Regions from separate parts of the Homo sapiens genome. Here region 2 is linked to region 1. The links are contacts of gene promoters, found by promoter capture Hi-C in blood cells and fetal thymus (Javierre and others, 2016). All regions are on one chromosome and are shown on one strand. Each heading gives the region's core, a stretch centred on a gene start or on the middle of the fragment in contact. The rest is flanking DNA. Distances are from core to core; before and after follow the strand shown.

Evidence for each region. Contacts are between HindIII fragments. The CHiCAGO score rates a contact against its expected background, and 5 or more counts as called.
Region 2: a fragment that was not itself captured here is called in contact with the fragment with the promoter of FAM151B in region 1 in 1 of 17 cell types (neutrophils); the score reaches 5.4 in neutrophils.

The regions. Positions count from the first base shown.
Region 1 is chr5:80,486,051-80,493,844 of GRCh38, reverse strand. FAM151B (family with sequence similarity 151 member B) reads right to left here and starts at 5,745. Exons shown (of 6, transcript NM_205548.3): 1 at 5,697-5,745. The coding sequence starts at 5,721. It overlaps FAM151B-DT (FAM151B divergent transcript), which reads left to right and starts at 5,899. Exons shown (of 3, transcript NR_172938.1): 1 at 5,899-6,067. RefSeq lists enhancers at 1-321, 5,140-5,639, 5,640-6,141 and a silencer at 5,181-5,475. The HindIII fragment of the contact is 15,498 bases long and covers 853-7,794 here.
Region 2 is chr5:80,696,255-80,703,993 of GRCh38, reverse strand. All of the region lies in intron 8 of MSH3 (mutS homolog 3), which reads right to left. Among named protein-coding and RNA genes, the nearest start is that of DHFR, 45 kb to the right of the region's middle. The HindIII fragment of the contact is 4,490 bases long and covers 2,373-6,862 here.

The DNA of each region.
Region 1 (7,794 bases), core at 4,496-6,995:
AAGGCAAGGCAAAATTAGAATTACTGATGAGGGTCTATGTCCCGCTGTGCACATATTGTCTTGATAAACATCTTAACAGGAAACAGGGTTTGAGAGCAGAGAACCGGTCTGACTAGAATTTACCAGGCTGGAATTTCCCAATCCTAGTAAGCCTGAGGGTACTGCAGGAGGCCAGGGTGTATTTCAATCCTTATATCAACCGCATAAGACAGACACTCCCAGAGCAGCTGTCTATAGACTTCCCCCAGGAATGCATTCCTTCCCCAGGGTTATTCCTTGCTAGGAAAAGAATTCAGCGATATCTCTCCTACTCGCACATCCATTTATAGGCTTTCTGCAAGAAGGAAAATATGGCTCGATTCTGCCCAACCCCGCAGGCAGTCAAACCTTATGGTTATCTTCCCTATTTCCCTGAAAATTGCTGTTATTCTGTTCTTTTTTAAGGTACACTGATTTCATACTGTTCAAACACACATGTTTTACAATCAGTTTGTACAACAGTGGTCCTGAGGTGACGTACATTCTCAGCTTATGAAGATAACATGATTAAGAGATTAAAGTAAAGCCAGGCATAAGAAATTATAAGCGTATTATTAGGGAAGTGATAAATGTCCATGAAATCTTCACAATTTATGTTCTTCTGCCTCGGCTCCAGCTGGTCCCTTCATTCGGGGTCCCTGACTTCCCACAACATCCATATCAGCAATAGGGCTGTTTTGCTTTCTTATAATTTGTGTGTTCCATGGAGTGGCACTTTGAATTTTCTTCAGGAGCTTTTCCTTTGTATTGACAACTTAGCTGTTTGGCACAAGAGGCCTCTCTCAGCTTTCGAAATGCTTTTCTCACTAAGCTTAATCATTTCTAGCTTTTGATTTTGTTTTTGTTTTTTTTAGAGACAAGTCTCACTCTGTTGCCCAGGCTGGTGTGTAGTGGTGCAATCATAGCTCACTATAATCTGAAACTCATGGGCTCAAGTGATCCTCCTGCCTGGGCATCCCAAGTAGCTAGGACTACAGGTGCATCCCACCACAGCCAGCTAATTTTTAAAATTTTTTGTAGAGACAAGGTCTTGATACGTTGCCCAGGCTGGTCTTGAACTGCCGGCTTCATGTGATCTTCCCACCTCAGCCTCCCAAAGTTCTGGGATTACAGGCATAAGCCACTGTGCCCAGCCCTCTGGCTTTCGATTTTAAGTGAGAAACAGGTGACTCTTCCTTTCACATAAACACTTAGAGCCCATTCTATGGTTATTAACTGGCCTAATTTCAATATTTTTGTGTCTCAGGAAATAGTAAGACCCTAGGAGAGGGAGAGAGACAGGAGTATGGCTGGCTGGTGAAGCAGTCTGAACACACACCATATTTATTTATTTATTTTTTATCCTCGCCAAGCCGGCCAGCATGCACTGCCCAAGCCAGCAAGGCTCACACACCACATTTACAGATTAAGTTTGACTTTGTGGTGCCCCAAAACAATTATTATAGTAGTATTTGAAGATCACTGATCACAGATCACCATAATAAATATAATAATTTTAAAATTTGAAATATTGCAAGAATTCCCAAAATGTGACAGACACAAAGTGAACACATGCTATTGAAAAATACAGCACCAACAGACTTGCTCAATACAAGGTTGCTACAAACCTTCAATTTGTGGGAAAAAAAAAAAGGATTATCTGCAAAGCACAATAAAGTGAAGTACAATAAAACAAGGAATGCTTGTACAATGGCATGTATCCACCACTACAATATCATACGGAATCACAGTGTTGCTGCTCCAAACCTCTGTGCTCCCTCTATTTATCCCAACCTCCTTCCCTGTGCGACCTGTGGCTGTTCTCCAGCTACCATAGCAGAGTTGATTAGTTGGAACATAAATTTATGCCTTGCAAAGCCCAAAATTTAATTTCTGGTTCTTTACAGAAAAAGTTTGCTGACCACTAAGATATGGAAACAACCTAAGCACCATCAGCGGGTAAATGGATAAAGAAAATGTGGTATAGATACACAATGGGGTACTATTCAGCCTTAAAAAGGAAAATTCTGTCATCTTCGACAAACGAAGAAACCTGGAGGGCAGTATGCTAAGTGAAATAAGCCAGGTACGGAAAGAAAAATACTGCACAGTCTCACATTTGGGACATCAAAAAGTAGAGCTCTAGGAGTAGAAAGCAGAATAGTGGTTACCAGAGGCTAGGGATGCAGCCAGGGCAATTGGATGGGAGGGGGATATGTCAGTCAAAGGGTGCAAAGTTCCGGTTAGACAGGAGGAATAAGTTCCCAAGATCTATTGCACAGCAATGGTGACTATAGTTAGTAATTCCAGGCATGCTGGCTCACAACTGTAACTCCAGCACTTTGGGAGGCTGAGGCGGAAGGACTGCTTAAGCTCAGTAGTTCGAGACCAGCCTGGGCAATGAAGCAAGACCTTGTCTCTACCACTAAAACTAACAATAATAATAACCCAGGCATGGTGGTGTGTGCCTGTAGTCCCTGCTATTCAGGAGGCTGAGGCAGGAGGATCACTTGAGCCCAGGAGGTCAAGGCTGCAGTGAGCCATGATTGCACCACTGCACTCCAGCCTGGGTGACAGAGCGAGACCCTGTCTCAATGATAATAATAATAATAATAATAATAATAGTGTATTATATATTTTGAACTTCTTAAATGAGTAGATTTTAAATGTTCTCATTACAAAGAAATGATAAGTATGTGAGGTGATGGATATATTAATTAGCCTGACTTAATCATTCTACCATGTATACATGTATCATAACATCACATTGTACCTCGCAAATATGCAATTATTATTTGTCAATTAAAAATAAAATTAAAAAAGAAAGTTTGCTATTTGCTGACCCCTGGACTAGACAATCATTAAGGTTCCTTCCAGTTTCCAAAAGTGACTACCAGAATTGACTTACCATTAAAGACAATGTACCATATGTCCACACAAAAACTTGTACACAAATGTTCACAGTAGCATTATTCACTATACCCAAAAGATGGAAACAACTCAAATGTCCATCAACTAATGAGTGGATAAACAAAATGTGGTGTTTCATGCAATTCCTTTTTTGGCCATAAAAAGGAATGAAGTATTGAAACATGCTACAAGATGGATGAATCTTGAAAACACTATGATAAGTGGAAGAAGCTAGACATAAGAGGGTCTATATTGGATGATTCCATTTATATGAAACATCCAGAACAGGCAAATTCATAGAGACAGAAAATAGAAGAATAGCAGTTGTGGATGTTAAAGGGTGGGGGATGGGGAAGTGTTTCTTTTTGTAAGGTGAAGATGTTTTAAAATTAATTGTGGTAATTGTTGCACAAGTCTGTGAATAAGCTAAAATTAAATAAATAAGCTAAAACCACTGAATTATACTCTTTAAATAAGTTGTATATTAATAGTATGCAAATTGTACATCAGTAAGGATTTTGAAGAATTTATTAATTTTTTTAAGGCTCTGGCTCTGTTGCCCAGGCTGGCATGTTCTTGGTTCACTGCAGCCTCTCCGGCTTAAGCGATTCTCCCGCCTCAGTCTCCTCCTGAGTGGCTGGGTCCACAGGTATGTGCCACCACCATACCTGGCTAATTTATTTGTTTTCTTTTGGAGAGATAAGGCCTCCCTGTGTTGCCCAGGCTGATCCAAACTCCAGGGCTCAAGCGATCCTCCTGCCTTTCAAAGTGTTCAGATTACAGGCGTAAACCACCACGCCCGGCCAGGACGGAACTTTTCACTATACATCCTATTGTGCCTTTTGAACTTTTTTATGTTGAGAATGTGTGTGTGTGTGTGTGTGTGTGTGTGTGTGTAAGGGGGAAAAATGACATATAACGGAAGAATCTGGTTAAGAATTAGTTTTATCAATAACTCGGTAATGAGAAGAAATTTTTGTTTTTGTTTTTGTTTTGAGACAGTTTCTCTCTGTTGCTCAGGCTGGAGTGCAGTGGCGCAATCTTGGCTCACCGCAAGCTCCGCCTCCCGGGTTCACGCCATTCTGCTGCCTCAGCCTCCTTAGTAGTTGAGACTACAGGCGCCGCCACCACGCCCGGCTAATTATTTTGGATTTTTAGTAGAGACGAGGTTTCACTGTGTTAGCCAGGATGGTCTTGATCTCCTGACCTCGTGATCCGCCCACCTCGGCCTCCCAAAGTGCTGGGATTACGGGCGTGAGTCACCGCGCCCGGCCCAAAAATTTGTTTTTTAAAAAATGGCATTTGTCAGCAATTGGACATTTTTCACTTGTGCACACATTTTATTCCAAGATTTTGTAAACCTTGCATCGATTCAGAAGAGAATCTGGATTTATACAGCCTGTGAGTGAGAATGGTGTAAGTCTTGAGTGTGAGCTTTGTCCCAGATTTGTTTGGATTCTTAGGAAAACTAGGCATTAAAAGGATTTATACTGAGAAGAGCACAAGGGTTAAAAAAGGAAAACTCTGGTCTGAAAAAATGTTCTACGGAGGTTTAGCACAGATCTTAAAAAAGAGAGAGAGAAAAAAGTTCACATCCTTTGATCCAGTAATTTCAGTTACAAGAATCGTGTCCAGGATAAAAACAAACCAAAAACATAACTGAGGAAGAACAATGCAAAAATGTTCATTACAGAATGAATTCTAACAAAACAAAACAAAACAGGAAACGACTGATTAACGTTCAACATTAGGAGACTGGTTAATTACAATATAATTGTATACAATATAATTGTATAAAACACTTCAGTCATTCAAAATTATGTTTATAAAAACCTTGGTGACATGGGATAGTATAAGATGCAGGATTTTAAAAATTATGTTTACCATGACCTTAACTCTATTTTTAAGAGTCAGGGTTGTTAGAAAATACCAAAAAGTTAGTAGTGGTGCCTGTGGGTATCAGCATTTGGGGGATTTTTTTTTCCTATTTCCCTATACTAATATACTTTATAAATGTTCTATAATGGCATTTATCAGGACCTGGACATTTTTCGCTTACACACACATTTTATTCCAAGATTCTGTAAACTGTGCATCGATTCAGAAGAGAACCTGTATTTATACAGCCTGCTAGTCAGAATGGTGAAAGCGTGTATTATTTTTACAATTAGGGAAAAAAATCTAAACTGAAGAAAGAACGCGTCACTGACGTTGTCTCATGCCACTACTTAAGTTTACAGAAAAGATACTGTAACCTTCAAGAGCGGAACTGCTGTCCCGCGAGTTGAAGCACCTGATTCCAAGGGGAATCAAGCGAGCCGCACACTCTGCCAGCTTTCCAGGCAGCGCGCTCAGCAGCGGGACTATGCCGGGCCCGGCCCAGTCCGCATTCCCAAACCTCCCCCAGCTTTCAAAGAGGAACCTACTGACCCAGACCGCCCCCATACGGTCGGCTGAAATTAAGGATTAGGGAAACGTCACATTCCTTTCTTTCCAACCCAGACCTCAAAAGACACTGACCCTGCCATTCTCGACCTCCCCTAACGCCTGTCCCTTAGAGCCCACCCGGCAAACCAAGGTCCTTGCCAGGCGATCGCGGGCGCGCCCCGAGTGCAGAGCGGGCTCCAAGCCCAGCCGCCCGGTTCTGCGCGGCGCGCTCCCAGGTCCCTAGCAAGGAAGACCGCGGGAGCCCGCAAAGGGAGGGTACGGCCGGCGGAGCCTCTCAAAGCGCCCCACCTCCAGGCAGAGGCCGCGCGCTCGGCGCTTACCTGGGCCTCCAGCGGATGCTGCCATGGTGACGACGCCCGCCGTCCGCGCAGGCGCCCAGGCTGGCGCCCCTGCTAACCGGGCACTGGTGGCAGGGAAATTCGACTCCACAAACCACAGGCCTCGGCGGGGGAAGAGCCCGGCGGGCGCCAGCGAAGCGGAACCAAACGGAGCCGCGGCACGCAGGCGCAAAGGCTGGCGTTCGAGGTTCGTTTACGCGCCGCTTCGCCGTGCAGGTGGTGGCGAAGCGCTCCTCCGAAAGGTTTCGGAAGCTGGTGGTAGCTCTGAAGATAACGCTGCGTTAGGGCATACTGCGGCGGAGGATGGAACTCCGATTGAAAGCAGTTGCTGGAGTGGAGCACGAATTTCAACAGTTGGGTATATTTTCTTTTAAATGTTAGTAATATCCTAAAAGGGTGTGGAATCATTACTGATAAAAATCAGTGTTTCTGGCCGGGCACGGTGGCTCAGGCCTGTACTCCCAGCACTTTGGGAGGTCGAGGTGGGCGGATCACTTGAGGTCAGGAATTCGAGACCATCCTGGCCAACATGGTTAAAACCCGTCCTTACTGAAAATTTAAAAAATTATCCTGGCGTGGTGGCGCGCGCCTGTAATCCCAGCTACTCGGGAGGCTGAGGCACAAGAATGGCTTGAACCGGAGAGGTGGAGGTTGCAGAGAGCCGAGATCGCTCCACTGCGCTCCGGTCTGTGCGATAGAGCTAGACTGTCAAATAAATAAATAAATAAATAAATAAGTTTTTGTACAAAGTTACCGAGCTGATAACTTGAAGTTTTCTCTCCCCTTCTGTCTCTCTACCAGTGTTCACTCAGAAAACGCTCTCAGCAACTGGGTCCTCCCATCCACTGTCTTTCTAGCCCTCCTTAACTCATTACTTTTTGAAGCCAAACTAGTGATCAGAATTAACAACAAAGCTCTGCCATTTTCAGCTTCTGTGACCAAAAAACTCAATCTGCCAGTGGTAGAGTTAGGATAACTAACATCACCTGACACGTAATACAAAGGGGAGTTATTCTTGCCCAGCCTTTCAGATAAAATATTTTTCATCACTCCAAAGCAATCACTCTCCATTTACCCCCTTCCTACCCCCAGGCAACAACTCATCTACTTTCTGTCTCATGAATTTGCCTATTCTGGAATTTCATGTAAATAGAATCACAGACTGTATGTATGATCTTTGTAACTGGCTTCTTTCACTTAGCATGTTTTCAAAATTCACCCATGTTTTAGCATGTATCAGTACTTCCTTCCTTCTTATGCTGGAATAAATTCCAGTTTGTAAATACCACATTTTATGTGTGTCCATTCAACAGCTGAAGGACATTCGGGTTGTTTCTACATTTTGTCTTTTATGAATGCTGCTGCTGTGAACATTCATGGACAAGTTTTGTGTGGACGTATATGAATACATTCCTGTGTGCATATCTGTGTACATACCTAGGAGTGGAACTACTTGTTCATATAGTAACTGTTTAACTGTGTGAGGAACTGCCAGTTTTGCAAATCAGCTGTACCATCTTTCATTCCCACCAGCAATGTATGAAGATTCCAATTTCCCCACATCCTTACCAGTCAGTACTTGTTGTTATGTTTTTTAAATTATAGCCATCCTAGTAGATATGAAGTACTACCTCATTATCTTGATTTGTAGTTCCCTACTAATAATATTGAGCATATTTTCAGGTGCTATCGGTCATTTATATATTTCCTTTGGAGAAATGTCTTCTCAAATCCTGTGCTCATTTCAATTGTGAGAATTCTTTATATAGTCTCAATACAAGTCCCTTAACAGGTAATTTGCAAATATTTGCAATATTTTCTCCCGTTGTGCAGATTGTCTTTTCACTTTCTTGATGGCATTGATTGCAGTACAGGTCTTTTTTAAAAAACTTGTTTTTCTTTTTTTTTAGATGAAGTCTCACTCTGTTCCCCCAGGCTGGAGTGCAGTGGCACGATCTCGGCTCACTGCAACCTCCACCTCCCGGGTTCAAGCGATTCTCCTGCCTCAGCCTCCTGAGTAGCTGGGATTACAAGCACGCACCACCACGCCTGGCTAATTTTTGTATTTTTAGTAGAGACA
Region 2 (7,739 bases), core at 3,368-5,867, 210 kb before region 1:
CAGGACATACTACAGCTGGCTGGGCACCACAGAACACGCCCTATGCAGAAACCACAGACACGTGCTTCCTGGCCCATTATAAAAGATTCCCCTGAGATTATGAACAAAATCAGGCTGCCCACTCTCTGCACTTAGATTTAGTGTTATACTAGTGTTTACGTCCAGTCAACAAACCAATTAAAAAAAAAACTCTTTATATGTTTCTAGAGCACATCAGCACATTGACAAAGGACTACTTTAGTATACAGGATAACAGCAGGAGTGAATAAAAACACATTCCTGAAGTAAAATCTGTGCACTGTTGTTACAGAAGGAAAGATAAAGTATTAGGAAATATGCAAGATGGAAGCTTCTCTCCTTCTTCAAGCAGACTTCAGCATACACAGGACTTCAGAATTAACCTGAGGGAGCCCTTTGCTCTGCAGCCCCAGGAAAATGACAGAGTGTGACAGGAGGCTAAGCTATGTGTCTCTCTGGAGGAATAAGTAGGTGGGAGGGAGGCAGAATCTGACAATCAACCTGCAGGCCAGGCTGCTCCCACTGTTCTCTGGAAGGCAGAAGCAATAGAAATTCTGTATGGGTGGGCAATCTCTTGTCTTAAGCAATTTAATCACCCACAAGTAAACTTTGTGATATCTGGAGGTTGATAGTTAGGAGTTACATAAAAGAATGTAAAGTATACTTACCTATAAGGTAATTCATACATAAATGATACCCTGACTTAGCAACTAGAAATTGCTCACACTTAAAAAGGGCACTAATCACTTTATCAAGTACTTCCTCAACTGCCCAATGTTTCAGTCAGAACCACAATTCAAATGTACATTCCTAAACCTGTCATTTATTATGGACATATTAAATAATAATTGTAATCACCTCAAAGGATTGTTGTGAAGATGACATCAGTTAATTTCAGTAATGGCAGAATGTACCAGGTACATAATAAGAACTTCATTAGCTGTTTTTATTTTTGTTTTGTTGCTGTTGCTTGTCTCGCTCTGTCGCCCAGGGAGGAGTGCAGTGGCATGATCTCGGCTCACTGCCACCTCAGCCACCCGGGTTCAAGTGATTCTCCTGCCTCAGCCTCCCAATTAGCTGGGACTACAGCTGCTTGCCATCATGCGCAGCTAATTTTTGTATGTTTAGTAAAGACAGGGATTTACCATGATGCCCAGGCTGGTCTCAAACTCCTGAGCTCAAGCGATCCACCTTCCTCAGCCTCCCAAAGTACTGGGATTACAGGCGTGAGCCACTGCACCCAGCCAGCTATTTTTTTTTTTAAATAAATTATTTCAACCTTGTTTAAACTTTGCTTTCATTGAGGAATGTATTTTCCCCCAAATCTGTCTAGTTAAGTGTTACCTGTCTTTCTAGGCCCATCTCTTGCATACAGCTGTGCTACTGTCTATAAAACTACATTGCCTTATACAGTAGCTACTAACCACATGCAGTTAATGAGCACTTGAAATGTCATGGCTGGACACAAACTATCTTAAATATGCCATGCGATACCTAGCACTCCTCTGCTCCCAGTGGCTCCCACCAGGTAAGGACTAACCCTGTGGTGTGGTCATGCTCCCATATGGCCATCAGGGAGGCATGCAAGCCCACTCATCATGCATTCTTCTCTAAACTTGCCTTCACATTAAGGTTGGGGACAACCCAGTACACCCACATGGTGTGTTCAGGATTCATGTCCACTCCCATGAGGTGCAGAGCCCAGCTCAGCCAGGCCAAGAAGAGAACTGGACAGAGCTGAAGGTATAAAATAAGGGAGCAGTCACAATGGCACCAAGGGAAAGAATCCTAGGACCTGGTCACGGAGCATTCTGGACTGCAGTGGGGAGCTTCCACAAAAGCCTGGAAAAAACTCAGTATTGTGTATATTAAGTCAATTTATATTAATAAATTTTATATTAATGTATATTGATTATTGATACAAAATCAAGTATCAGAGGGTTTTTGGGTTTTTTTTGTTTCTGTTGTTTTTTCAGAAAGAAGGGTAGAAAAAGAAGGGAGGGAGGAAAAACTGTACAGAAAAACCATACCAGGCCTCCATAGGCTTTTACTGCTTTAGGGATCAAGACTTGGGCCAGAGGTTAAAAAGGATTCACAAAAAAGCTGGCAGGAGGAAGAAATTCCTGGCCTGAAAACAAGAGATAAGAAAATAATCTCAAAGCAAGCAAGCAGGGAAAATAAGAGAAATTAGTAAGAAGTCTCCCTTCAGCAGGGAGGTTCGACAGGAAGAAGTCATTACAAAGACAAATGGACAAGAAGGAGTCCACAAAGGCTGGGAGATAAGCAAGCCCAGAGGAGCTCTGAACTAAGCTGGCCTCAAGTTTTTGACTTCAGGTAGAAAGTGAAAGGAAGCTTTGCTGGAAGGGAAGAGATTAAAAGGGATCTCTCCTTGAACCATGAAAAGGAGAAGAAAAAAATAAAGAGATCCTGAGGACAGACAGTAACTGTATTTGGAGTTCAGTGAAGGGGGATTTTTGTCTTTTACATTGCTGTCAGGTTACACCTTAATGATAGCAGGTGAACTCACCAGTATCAAACAGGGTTAGGGCTCTAGTGGGCTTTGCCACTTACTACCTAAGTGATCCTGTAACTTCAAGAGAGGTTCACAGCATCTCTGCCTCCTTGCAGAAAGAAGAGGATAACTACACTTTCTTCAGAGGGCTGTGCCAGGGTTATTGAAGCCATGAACAATGTGTCTTCAAGAATGATGGGACTCAATCTTTCCCTTCATCTCCTGTCTTTCCTTTTTCTTCCTTTCCATTTACCCCCTACCTTGCAACTCGTACTGTTTCCCTTTGCCTTCACCTGAAATAATAAAGACTACTTTAATATTTAGTGTAGGATTTTTTTAAGATGCTAATAATAAATCATTTAAAAGCACTTTTAATATATTAACATTTATAACACAAACTTCTGGGAAAAGCCATGAGGACAAGACGCTTTAGCTAAATAAAGAGTCTTTATGCAATTAAATCCTCAAACCCAAATGAACAGGTGTATTTACAAAAATCAAGTCGAATTAGTAAAACAAATGCAGCACACCTCACACAATTGCTTCCAAACTTTCTGTTCAAGCAGTCTGGCCCCACTTTAGGAGGTCTCTGTAGTAATCAGGAAGATCTTTTCTCCACACTTCTCAAATGCTGTTTCTTCCTATTCGACTATCAATAAACCTACTGCAAATACACCCCATTTTTTCTTTTCAAGGAGATATATTCCTGAGGAGAATGCACTTGATGAAAATGCACAAAGAAGCTCTCATTCTTTAAATAAACTCATGGCAAATGTTCTTATAAAATAACTATCACCTATTAACTTATCATGTTTTAAAATCTGGATTTTCATGAGTTAAGCACATCCATTAAAATTGCTAGCTAGATATACAAAAAGTATCAGGACTAAAAAAAAAACCTACTGAAAATACAATGGCATTACCACCAGGGAAGAAATTAATGTAATTTTTAAAAAGAAATTTCAAAATGACAGATTTTTTAATACTAATAACACTTCCTCTTTAAATGGTTTCCCAGTGGCAAACATTTTCCTACAGCATATGAGATTTATTTCTTCCATTTAGTCACTACCATCTCTACTACCAGAATTGATTTGTTCTGTCGCCCAGACTGGAGTGCAGTGGGGAGATCTCGACTCACTGCAACCTCTGCCTCCCAGGTTCGAACAATTCTCCTGCCTCAGCCTCCTGAGAAGGTGGGATTACAGGCACGTGCCATCATGCCCAGCTAATTTTTTGTATTTTTAGTAGAGATGAGGTTTCACCATGTTGGCCAGGCTGACCTTGAACTCCGGACCTCAAGTGATCCACCCGCCTCAGCCTCCCAAAGTGCTCGGATTTTAGGCATGAGCCACCCTGCCAGGCCCACAATTTATTTTCTAATTCTAGATTATCTAAATAGTTAAGTGAAACTACCGTCTAATAAACATAATGAAACAGAATGACAAAGTAGTCAACTTTATATTTATCTTCTGCTCTCGAAAAGAGGAATGAGGAAAATGGGGAAGACAAAATATAAAGAAAAAAAGAGATTTCCTACGAATACCACAACAGAAAAGGTTTCAAGCGCCAGAGGGGAGGCTAGTGCCTAGTTATCATCAATATCAATCTTTAAACAGTAACTTAGCCATGTAGATCCCATTAATATTTGCTGTAAAGGAATATCTATGGAAATGTCAGGATGCTTCAATCAATTTACAGTGATATTAAAAAATTTTTTAAAGAAATAAACATAATGGGGAAAAAACGATAAGAAATCAATATGATCTTTCCAAAAGAGTAAATGAATTGGCTACATCTGTATAATGTAAATCTATATAATGTAAATAGACATTGATTACCATATATGTTAATGTATAGATTTCCAGCTACTCCAACAACCTTTTTTTTTTTTTTTTTTTTTTTGGAGACAGTGTTGTACTCTGTTGCCCAGGCTGGAGTGCAGTGGTGCAATCTTGAATCACTGCAACCTCCACCTCCCGGGTTCAAGCCATTCTCCTGCCTCAGCCTCCCAAGTAGCTAGGATTACAGGTGCTGACACCACACCCAACTAATTTTTGTACCTTTAGTAGAGGTGGGGTTTCACCATGTTGGCCAGGCTGGTCTGGAACTCCTGACCTCAGGTGATCCACCCATCTCGTCCTCCCATAGTGCTGGGATTACAGGTATGAGCCACCACGCCCAGCCTTACAACAACCCTTCTATGTTTAAAAAACCCAAATCAGTTTTGTTAAGAAAAACAAATAGGAGATACCCATTATTCTCTTTATTCTAAACATCACTTATTTAATCATTCATTTACCAAGCATTTATTAAGCACCTATTATGTGTGAGCTACTTTGATAGGTGCTGGGTACACAAAGGGTCACTAGGCTACGGTCCCCATCACCAGCCATCTCAGCTCAGTCTCTGTCACAGGAAACTCTTTATCCAGGCCCTGTGTAATGCCGCTTTCTCACTCCACCGTTTCACTCTTGATTCTCTTTTTATTTTTTATTTATTTGTATATTTTTATTATACTTTAAGTTCTAGGGTACATGTGCACAACGTGCAGGTTTGTTACATATGTATACATGTGCCATGTTGGTATGCTGCACCCATTAACTTGTCATTTACATTAGGTATATCTCCTAATGCTATCCGTCCCCCCCACCACCCCACAACAGGCCCCCCGGTGTGTGAGGTTCCCCTTCCTGTGTCCAAGTGTTCTCATTGTTCAATTCCCACCTATGAGTGAGAACATGCGGTGTTTGGTTTTTTGTCCTTGCGACAGTTTGCTGAGAATGATGGTTTCCAGCTTTATACACCCTTTCTCTCCAAAACACGTCTGTCCTGCCTCAGGTTGCCTGCTCATGCTGGCAGAGTAACCCAGCCAAACTAGTTTCTGCTTCCTAAGAAAAGCACGCTCTCTCACACCTCCACCTGACTGGCATTCATTCTTCCAGTCTCAATTCTAACACACCCCTCTAGCAAACTAGCATGATGCTCAAGGGCTGCCAGTAACTCTAAGATATTTTCAACCAGCGCTTTCATTACAATTATTTCCATGACTACCTCCCCTCTAGACTATAAGAACTTGGAAAGGAGGGATCTTTCTCATTTCTGTATCCTTGCCACCTAGTAACAAAGCTGGCGCACAGCAGCCACTCAATAACTGTGTTTAAGGATGAATAAATGAATGACTGTATAATAATGTTCAACTTAGAAGATGTATCAACAACTTGAGAATCTACTGGAAACATCCATCAAAATGCAGATTTTGGCCAGGCGCAATGGTCCACGCTTGTAATTCCAACATTTTGGGGAGGCCAAGGTGGGTGGATTGCTTGAGCCCAGGAGTTTAAAACCAGTATAGAAGACATAGAGAGGCCTCATCTCTACAAAAAAAATTAGCTGGGTGTGGTTGAGCACACCTGCAGTCCCAGCTACTCAGGAGGTTGAGGTGGGAGGATTGCTTGAGCCTGGGGGGTCAAGGCTACAGTGAACCACGATGGTGCCACCATACTCCAGCCTGAGGAAGAGTGAGACCCCGTCTCAAAAATAAATAAATAACATCGATTTGTTTGATATAAAAAAATCAATTAGAATTTCCTGGTATCCAATTTAATAAAATAAACTTGACAGCAGGATAAAATACCTTTAAAAAGGTGAGCTACTATAAAAAATGGAGTAACTCATCTTAAGAGAGCTTAAATGTCCTTTCTGGGCTTCAAATTCATCTATATTTCTCTACATCTCAAGTTTGGATTTTTTTTCATTCAAACAATGGTCCCACTTATACTAGATTTAGCTTACACAATCTAAATGACAAGTGGCAGAAAATGTGACACACATTGCCTTTACAATTGCTCCAACATGTTTCCTTAACTTCAGTCATTCCCCTTTACCTTCAATAATACTGACATATTTGTAAGGACATCACTACTATAACCTGATAGTTCTTGTTAAGTTAACTCACATTTTTAACTCAAATACCAACTTAAGAATCTTTCTTTGCAACACATTTATGAAATCACAGGTTTGATTCACTGATTATATGTTTTTAATATACCTTAAGTAAATATTTAACTATGAAGGTAAAAAACGTTATTTGTGAAGCACTTAAAATTATATCAGGTAAGTAAACCAGGTGTAACTTGGCTCCAGCTGCCAACACCTTGTATAACTCAGGCACCTTTCTTATGGCAGGGCCATTCCTCTGTCAACATAAGACTCTGCACGATTTCTGACCTCTGGGCTCTCTGAATCCACTTGGTATGGAGGTTCCTTCAAATACTTTTAATTTTTAACTTTGATGCTTTTCTGTGGGTGATAAACAAGAAAGGGCAAGCTTCGTAAGAAGGAAATATGAACTAATCATCATGACAGCACTCTGATGGAGAGCTGGCAAAATTTTCCTATAAATTTTTGTATGCTTAGATTGTTAATTTGCCAAGAAAAGGGATAGAATTTTCCCCACTGGTTGTGCTTTTAAAAATATACTAACATTCTTAAACTGTAAACAGCACTAAAAATATTAAAAGCAGTTTTTTAATTATAAAAAATAGGATTTTCTTTTTCTCAATCAGATTCACCCATGTGCAAAATTCAATTCTATTGCAGTTAAAATTTGCACACTGGCATTATCAATATAATCTAAGTCCAAATTTTATTATAATTAGATCAAAATAACACCAAGGAAGCAAAGTTCATTTATACATAGAGCAATCTCTAAAATAAGATCTTGATTGAAGAACTTCTGCTTCTGGGAAGAAGGAATGGAGATATGTTTCCCCACTCCTACTCTAAGTACCACTCCCTGCATATTACATGTCAAACAAACATAAGACGACTCTGAAAGGTGAGCAGAAAGCAGACCAGCTAGTGAACTTGGGATGTGAGGAACAGTATGACGGTGAGTTCCCCAGGTTTACTTTTTGTAGCATAAAACCCAGACTTGGAGCTGAAAAAGCTGACAACCCGGAAAGACCAACAGGCACAGACAAAAAAGCCTCAACAAACCCCCAGAGAAGAGGAAGCCTAGCAAGACAGAAAACTTTTAGCCAATAACCGCTCTACTCTAGCCAAGCATCAGAGAAAAACCTGTGGTCCCACCCATGCTAGCAAAGGCTGGGACCCCAGATTTCCATTCTCACTGGTGAAAGAAGGCACTCCAAACTCCAGTTGGGATTGTGTCAGTGTCAGCCATACAGTAGCAAACAAGAGGTTC